Regions from separate parts of the Homo sapiens genome. Here regions 1 and 3 are each linked to region 2. The links are contacts of gene promoters, found by promoter capture Hi-C in blood cells and fetal thymus (Javierre and others, 2016). All regions are on one chromosome and are shown on one strand. The core of a region is centred on a gene start or on the middle of the fragment in contact, and the rest is flanking DNA. Distances in the headings are between cores, read along the strand shown. Region 1 overlaps FKBP5 (FKBP prolyl isomerase 5). Region 2 holds the start of PPARD (peroxisome proliferator activated receptor delta). Region 3 has its middle 11 kb from the start of LINC03135.

Region 1 (2,700 bases), core at 6-2,505, 230 kb before region 2:
ACCCCCTTCAAACCTAAAAATCAAGTTATTTCCTTTTATAATACTTTTCTTCCCCATGGAACAAATGGGATCAATTTGTGAGTTTTTTCCTTTAATGATAACTAAAATCCCTCTAATTTCTCATTTATGCTTTTGTCTTTTTTATGAAATATTTCTTTTAAAAGCCCCAGTCTCACCTACGAAATATGAAGAGCAAAAGCTGATTTTGCTTACTTGCTAAACTGTTGGGAAAGCTCTGTAGAGCATGGTTCCAGTGAGGCCAAGATTGAAATTTGATACTAAAAAGGCCACCTAGCTTTTTGCAGATAACAAACAAGAAAGCTATTCCAAGACTCAGATGATGCCAGCTGTCTCCCACGTGTGTATTATGGTTCACCAGGGGGAACTGGCAAAAGTGTGTGTGGGGAGGGGAAGGGTGTGTGAGTGGTTCTGAGCAAATAACTACAGGGTGCCCATTACCACTCAAGAAGACACTTCACGTATTCTTGTATCAAATTCAATAATCTTAAACAATTTGTGTAGAAGTCCACAGACATCTTTCAACCACCTTTTAGGCTGCATATGGATTGCCAAGTCAGCATATGAGGAATTAAAGACATTGTTTTTAAAAAAAAAAAATCATTTAGATGCACTTTTTTGTGTGTTCTTTAAATAAATCCAAAAAAAATGTGACTTCCCATTGTTTTTGGTTTTGCTTAAGTGATTTTCAGGGAAAGCTATATTGGTTAAAAAACCATGGTGGGGGCCAACTTGAAGAAATTAGACATCAGAGAGGTCAGGCGTAGTGGCTCATGCCTGTAATCCCAGCACTTTGGGAGGCCAAGGCAGGTGCATCACCTGAGGTCAGGAGTTTGAGACCAGCCTGGCCAATGTGGTAAAACCCTGTCTCTACTAAAAATACAAAAATTAGCCAGGTGTGGTGGTGCACACCTGTAATCCCAGCTACTCAGGAGGCTGAGGCAGGAGAATCACTTGAACCTGGGAAGTGGAAGTTGCAGTGAGCCAAGATTGTGCCACTGCACTCTGGCCTGGGTGACAGTGAGACTTGGTCTCAAAAAAAAAAAAAAAAAAAAAAAATCAGAAAATCGGCAATGGACAGTATCATCCTACACTTTGCTCTAAGGTGAACCTGAAACCAACATTGGGGTGAAAGTGGCAGAACAATGCATCGTTGCTAAAAAGAACCAAGTAATGGGAAAAATAAAAAGGTTTTGTTTTTTCATTAGCCAGCGGATATTTCACCTTTTTAAGCTGATTTTAAGGTAGGCTCGACTTGCAAAATAAAATTTAATTGTGCCCTTTAATAAATATATGAAACATAAGTAAGGCTATCTAAGGTGGTGGTCCATATTGAGCATGCATTTTCTTTCTTAAGTAGCATATATCATCAATACTCATCATCACAGACTCTCAAGGCCTAAGGAGATGTCACATATACTGCAAATCCTCATTTTCACACTGCAAAAGAAGGTGGCACAGTGCTGGAAGGTACTTAGTAGGACCTCTGAGGTCTACAGACAGGTTGATGCAGGTTCTAGGCACCCTTTATTCCCTCTGAATTCTTGGCTTCATCTCTGGATTTGAATTATATTTCTCCCTCCTCCCTGTTAAATTATTTGGTAATGAAATAAATTCCTAGCTAGGTGCGGTTGCTTATGCTTATAACCCCAGCACTTTGGGAGGCCGAGGTGGGCAGGTTGCTTGAGCCCAGGAGTTCGAGACCAGCCTGGGCAACATGGCAAGACCCTGTCTCTACAAAAAGTACAAAAATTAGACAGACATGATGGTATGCACCTTTAGGCCCAGTTACAGGCTGAGGTGGGAGGATCACTTGAGCCCTGGGAGGTTGAGGCTGCAGTGAGCCATGATCATGCCACTGCACTCCAGCCTGGGTGACAGAGCAAGACCCTATCTCAACCATAATAAATTCCCTTTATTTGCGTGCTTTTTTTTTGTAAGAAAATAATGATCACCCTAGGGATCTTGAGGATGAGCCAGAGAAGATTCCTGGCTGTAAATGTGTGATCTCAGAAATTCAGAGGCAGCTTGCACAACCTCCAAAACGAGGACTGCCAGTGAAGGGCTTTGTCTATACTTACTTGGCCTTAGCAGCACACTGAACTCCACTTTTAGTATGGTACATGTGAAGCCTGTATTCTCTGGGGCTGGAGACTATCTCCAGTATTGGTGACAAAACGCATTGAATTTGAGCCAGTTAGTCAAAATCCTGAAACTCAGAATTCCCCAACCCAGCTGTGTATTTTTTCCATCAGCTGGCTACTTATGCATCTGAATGACAGTGACTGACGAAAGTACATAAAAGGACATTCTCTGATGGCTTGAAAAGTTTTGGTAGACCTTCAGTACTTCCCTTCAGATTTTTCTCTACTACATGTCTGACATGGAGATTTCTGTGGGAGGAGAAGGCACTATCTGTAATTGCCCAGAATCTCCACGTGTGACCTTAATAATACACGGCAAGAAAGAGACAGCGTTAAATACAACTCTTAAGATTTTTGACAGCATCTTGTTTGGGTAACTGCAGCCTATAGTTAGAAAAATTAAAGCACAGTTTATAAGGCAGGGATTCTTTGTCTTCTAAAGATGAGGGAACCTTGGAGAATCAAGAATATGGGGAGGACCCAGAATGGTGATGCAGCCTGCCCATGGCCGTCAGGTCACCTGATGCCCTTGCACCAT
Region 2 (2,700 bases), core at 201-2,700:
AAAACTCAAACGGGAAAAAAAAAAGTTCTGGAGCCAGTACACAGAAAAAAGGTTGAGGACCACAAGTATTTTCTGGAGCACAGCTTCTGGAGAATTCTCTTAGTCCTTTCGGATGGAGCACAGGGTGGAGGGTGGGAGTGAGGGCAGAGAGAGGCTGGGGTATCATGGTATAAGTGTATTCCACACATCCAGAGTGGAAAGACACAAAACCCCGGTTCCTGGAAGGGGAAAAGAATTGGACAAAGCCTCCGGCTACCCGTGGCACACATCCAGCTCAGCGCCGTCTCCCCCAAGGGTTCCTGGAAGTCAACAGCCCCATAAAGGGGAAGTATTAAAGCTGAGATAAGAAGAATGGCCTACAAATTGGACATCATCTCTGATGCAACACCCACGTACATTCTCCCACACAATCTGTTATTTCCTTTAGTCAATCAGCCTCTTAATTCGATCAAGGTCTGAACACCTCCACCCCCACCCCATGGTTATGTCAACTGCAGGTCAAGTGAAAGTAGAGTAGAGTGTGGAGCTAAGGCTTCTCCCTGAAGCAGGGGAAAGGAACAGGGAGAGAAAAGGAGGTGGGCGACAGGAATGTAGGGGACAGAATTGATACGAAGGAAATCGGAAAAAGGAGCAAAAACAGGGCCTCTCAGGGAACCAAGGTGAGAGTCTTAGGGAGACAGGGACTGCAGGCACGGAGTTGGAAAAAGCCTAGGAACACCCTGGGGAAGAGGATGGGGACCCATAATACTAGGAGGGATCAGACCACAGATAAGAAGGGGACAGGGATGGGGAGAGAGAGTAAAGCCTGAGAGAGCAAGGATGGGAGGATGAAGGCAGGAGACAAGGATAACGAGGGGGACAGAGGAAAAGATCCCAGAGAAGACTCTCGCTAGATAGGGCAGTGGATTCAGGAACACCAGAAACGGGTGAAGGAAGAGGTCAGAGGCAGGGGAGGGGAATGGGAGAGGCCCCCGGGCCTGAGACGGGGTTCTCACAAGTGGGAGAAGACGAAGCCACCAGGCCCAAGAGGGGGCAAAGAGTAGGGTGGAAGGAGGCCCGTATTTCGGACTCACTCAAGCAGCTATGGGGGTCCAAGGGCGGGGGGGCGCAGGGTCAGCGGGGCGCCTACATGGCAACGCACGACGGCTGACCGGAGCGGGCCGGAGCATCAGGAAGCCGCCGTGACGCTGTCCGCGGACCCCGGCAGCTCCCCGCACCCCGTTCCCCGCCGCCGGGCCTTGCGCCCCAGTCCCGCTGGCCGCCTCGGCCCAGGCCCGGCGCTTCCCTCCGCCACTTGCCTGACCGCTTCTCTCGTCTCGGACTGACCTGTCCCGGCTGCCTACGGCGCCACCGCCGCCGTCCCGCAGGCTCCGCAGAATTCTCCCGCTCCTGCCAAAACTTTTCCCATTAATCCCCAGGTCCGCGGCGGCCGCAGCGTCACACGCTCCGCGGCCCGGCCCCGCCCCCGCCAGCGAGACGTCACCGCGCTGCTCGGCCTTTCCCTCCCCACGCCCCCTTCCGCCCGGCGGCGGCCAATCACCACGCCTCCTGGAGACTCCCCTAATTCTGCCTCTCCGCCCACCGCACGCTGCCCCGGGCCAGCCTGTGGCGCCCTCTGGTGCGGGATGCGGACGTAGCAGCTAAGGGAGGAGCAGGGGAGCGCCAGGTCCAGTAGAACAAGTCCAGCAAGTGACACAAGAGGGAATTTAAAGCTGGAAGGGAATTTCTAGGTCATCTAGTGCAACCTCCTCATCTTCCAGTGAAGAAACTTAGTCCTAGAAAAGGTACGTGACTTGCAGTGACAAGTCTGGAGAGACTCTTAACCCAGTGCTAGGTCCACTGGAGGAGATCATATCGCCTATAATTTTCAAAAAAGGGCTTTCCGCCTTCAAGAGGCTTCTACAACTGGAAATTTACGGTCTTAGAGTTCTTAACCTTTCTTCCCATGTGCTTATGCAATACGCTTATTCACCTAAAATAGGGGACATCCTCCTTATTGTTGTAGAAAATTCTGTTCTTATTAATCCACATCTTTAAGACCTGGAAGGGACCTATTATCCCAACCTACCGCTTAAGATGTACCACAGGAAACTACCTAGCAGCTGGGAGGCAATCTGGTGGAAGAAGTTGGCTTTCATCTGACGATGAACAAAGCTTGACTCTCAGGTATATGACCAATGCCTCCCCTCCATCATCATTAAAGATGACCCCTCCCCTCTCCTTCGGCCACACCTTCCGTAGGCCGCAAGCTCCTTAGGCCACACCTAGCTATCTGGATGAGTGATTTTTTTTTTTTTTTTTTTTTTTGAGACACAGTTTCACTCTGTCGCCCCTGCTGGAGTGCAGTTGCGCAATCTCAGCCCGCTGCAACCTCCGCCTCCCGGGTTCAAGCGATTATCCTGCCTCAACCTCCCAAGTAGCTGGGATTACAGGCATGCGCCACACGCCCAGCTAATTATTGTAATTTTAGTAGAGACAGGGTTTTGCCATGTTGCCCAGGCTGGTCTTGAACTCCTGGACTCAAGTTATCCTCCCACCTTAGCCTCCCAAAGTGCTGGAATTACAGGCGTGAGCCACCGTGCCTGGCAGGGATGAGTGATTTTTTCCCCCTTCTTTCTGCTTCTCTTTTTCTTTTTCTTTTTTTTCCCCTACTTTTTGAAATGCTTGTGCATTATATTTGTAACTTAGATGTCAACCTCC
Region 3 (2,700 bases), core at 127-2,626, 210 kb before region 2:
CCTGGGTGACAGAGCAAGACCCTGTCTTTTTTCTTTTTTTTCCATGAGACATTTTATTTGTAAATATATGTATTACATCCCTAGAAAAAGAATCCCAGGATTTTCCCTCCTGTGTGTTTTCGTCTTGCTTCTTCATGGTCCATGATGCCAGCTGAGGTTGTCAGTACAATGAAACCAAACTGGTGGGATGGAAGCAGATTATTCTGCCATTTTCTAGATCTTTGAGTTGCACACCGAATCTGGGGCTGATCACTCCACACTTGTTTAGCCTGCCTGTGAGGTTCGCAACAATTTTCCCAGCTCTGCGATCATCAATGATTTCAAATTCGCCAATGTAACCATGCTTCATCATCACAGTGAGAAACCGGACGATGAGTTTGGAGCACGGCCTAATAAGCACTGGGCGTTTGCCTCTCTTTTCGGCATTGTTGATGCTCTTGAGAGCATCGGCCAGGACGTTCACGCACACCATGGTGGCGTCGTGGGAAGATGGCGGAAAAGCTTTTTTTTTTTAAGAGACAACTTATCAACTATATTCATTCCATTCTTGGGGCACAGTTAGGTTGTTCCCACATTTTTACTATTGTGAACAGTGCTACGACACATATCCTTGTACACCTGTCTCCTTGTGTCCATGTATGAAAGTCGACATAGGGTCTAAGCATCTGCAACTTCACTAGGTATTGACAAACTCCCAAGTAGTTGTACTAGTTTACCAAAAACCATCAGCGTGAGTATGAGTTCAGGTTTCCCACATATTTACCACCATTTGGTTTTAGAAAATCCATTAACTTTTTCCAATTTTATGGGACATTATATCTCACTGTTGCTTTGATTTCTATGTCCTTGATTCTAGGTGAGGCTTAGCAACTTGTCATATGAAAGGTTATTGGGGGCTGGGCAAGGTGGCTCACACCTGTGATCCCAGCACTTTAGGAGGCAAAGGCAGGGGGATCGCTTGAGCCCAGGAGTTCAAGGCCAGTCTAGGCAACACAGCGAGAACCTGTCTCTATTAATAAAAAAAGAAAAAAGAAAAGAAAGGTTATTGGGAAGCCCCAGAATGGAAGTCTCTGTGGCTTTTTCCTCTTGAGCTGGTCCATTTCCCCAGAGAGGAATTTTCCTGGAAGTCAGCATCCACTCACCCATGCTCTTTCCAGGCTGTTACCTCCCTCCATCCTCAGCTGAGTCTGGGGTTGCCAAGGTCACCAAGTTGAACATGTATATGGCACAGCCTTGCCAGAGAAGAGGCCAGTGTTCCGCTTGGAGCAGGGAGGGGCAGCTGCCTGGCTGCATGTAATGGGAGTGGTCTCTGGAAGACTTTCAGCTTCTCCTCTCTTTCAGCCCCATGCTGAACACCCCCCTTCAGAAGCACCTACTGCCTTGCGCAGGCTCTGCGTTACAAACCCACTTCCTTTTGGCTGGCCAGGTCCTCTGCATACTTGGTGCCACCTTCTCCCTGCTGCTGACTCTGTCACCCTCCAGCCATCCCCTTTCCAGCTTCTAAAATTCTGCCAGCGCTGTGTGCTGCTCTCTCCTGTCCTGTTCATTCCCTTTGTCCTTTTGGCTTGATACTTCTTAAATTCCTTTACTGTCTTTTCAGAGGAAAGGGGCTTCCATGGGGAGAAGAGTGTATGTTAGGCCCACCATTTTTATTTTTTATTTATTTTTACTTATTTATTTTGAGATGGAGCCTGTTGCCCAGGCTGGAGTGCAATGGTGTGATCTCAGCTTACTGCAACCTCTGCTTCCTGGGTTCAAGCAATTCTTCTGCCTCAGCCTCCCAAGTAGCTGGGATTACAGGTGTGTGCCACCACACCTGGCTAATTTTTGTATCTGTAGTAGAGACAGGGTTTCACCATGTTGACCAGGCTGGTCTCAAACTCCTGACCTCAAGTGATTCGCCCGCCTCGGCTTCCCAAAGTGCTGGGATTATAGGTGTGAGCCACTGCACCCGGCCAGGGCCTCTATATTTAAACGGACACTGTGTAGGTATTTAGTCTAGAATGTACTTTGTATGGTGGAAGGTAAGGATCTAATATTAGCTTTTTCAGCACCACGTACCGCTTAGTCCATTCTTTCCTTCATGGTTTGTTATGCCACCTCTGTCAGAGCCAAACTCCTGCACCCGTTGGATTTCTTTCTAGGCTGCCAATTCTGTTCCATTAGGATGGATAAAGAGGGACAAAGACACACAGCTATCCATGTGCCAAGACCATAGTTTTAATCATGATAGCTGGTGGTGAAAGCTTATTCTTGTTCCTCTTCAAAATTGTTTTTGTTGGGTCAGGCACAGTGGCTCACGCCTGTAATCCCAACACCTTGGGAGGCTGAGGTGGGTGGATCACCTGAGGTCAGGAGTTCAAGACCAGCCTGGCCAACATGATGAAACCCCGTCTCTGCTAAAAATACAAAAATAGCCCGGTATGGTGGCCTGTGCTTGTAATCCCAGCTACTTCGGAGGCTGAGGCACAAGAATCGCTTGAACTTGGGAGGCAGAGGTTACAGTGAGCCCAGAGCATACCACTGCACTCCAGCTTGGGCGACAGAGCAAGACCCTGTCTCAAAAAAAGAAAAAAATTGTTTTTTTTGGACTTCTGGTTTGTGTATGGTAGAATAAAATTAGCATTTTCCTCCCTCCTCTCAAAAATCATGAGAAGCAACATGGAGAATGAGATACAGAAACATAAAATCCATTTCCAG

Evidence for each region. The method cuts DNA at HindIII sites, captures the fragments that hold promoters and counts their contacts. A CHiCAGO score of 5 or more calls a contact.
Region 1: a contact is called between a fragment that was not itself captured here and the fragment with the promoter of PPARD in region 2, in 2 of 17 cell types (naive CD4 T cells and total CD8 T cells). The highest score is 5.7, in naive CD4 T cells.
Region 3: a fragment that was not itself captured here is called in contact with the fragment with the promoter of PPARD in region 2 in 8 of 17 cell types (total CD8 T cells, non-activated CD4 T cells, naive CD4 T cells and 5 more); the score reaches 9.5 in total CD8 T cells.

What each region holds. Positions count from the first base shown.
Region 1 is chr6:35,571,562-35,574,261 of GRCh38, reverse strand. FKBP5 (FKBP prolyl isomerase 5) reads left to right here. Exons shown (of 11, transcript NM_004117.4): 11 at 1-672. Among named protein-coding and RNA genes, the nearest start is that of LINC03135, 29 kb to the right of the region's middle. The HindIII fragment of the contact is 3,206 bases long and covers 1-2,700 here.
Region 2 is chr6:35,341,308-35,344,007 of GRCh38, reverse strand. It overlaps PPARD (peroxisome proliferator activated receptor delta), which reads right to left and starts at 1,450. Exons shown (of 8, transcript NM_006238.5): 1 at 1,327-1,450. RefSeq lists silencers at 989-1,038, 1,069-1,208, 1,389-1,598. The HindIII fragment of the contact is 7,732 bases long and covers 1-2,156 here.
Region 3 is chr6:35,553,645-35,556,344 of GRCh38, reverse strand. It overlaps the pseudogene RPS15AP19. Among named protein-coding and RNA genes, the nearest start is that of LINC03135, 11 kb to the right of the region's middle. The HindIII fragment of the contact is 1,745 bases long and covers 504-2,248 here.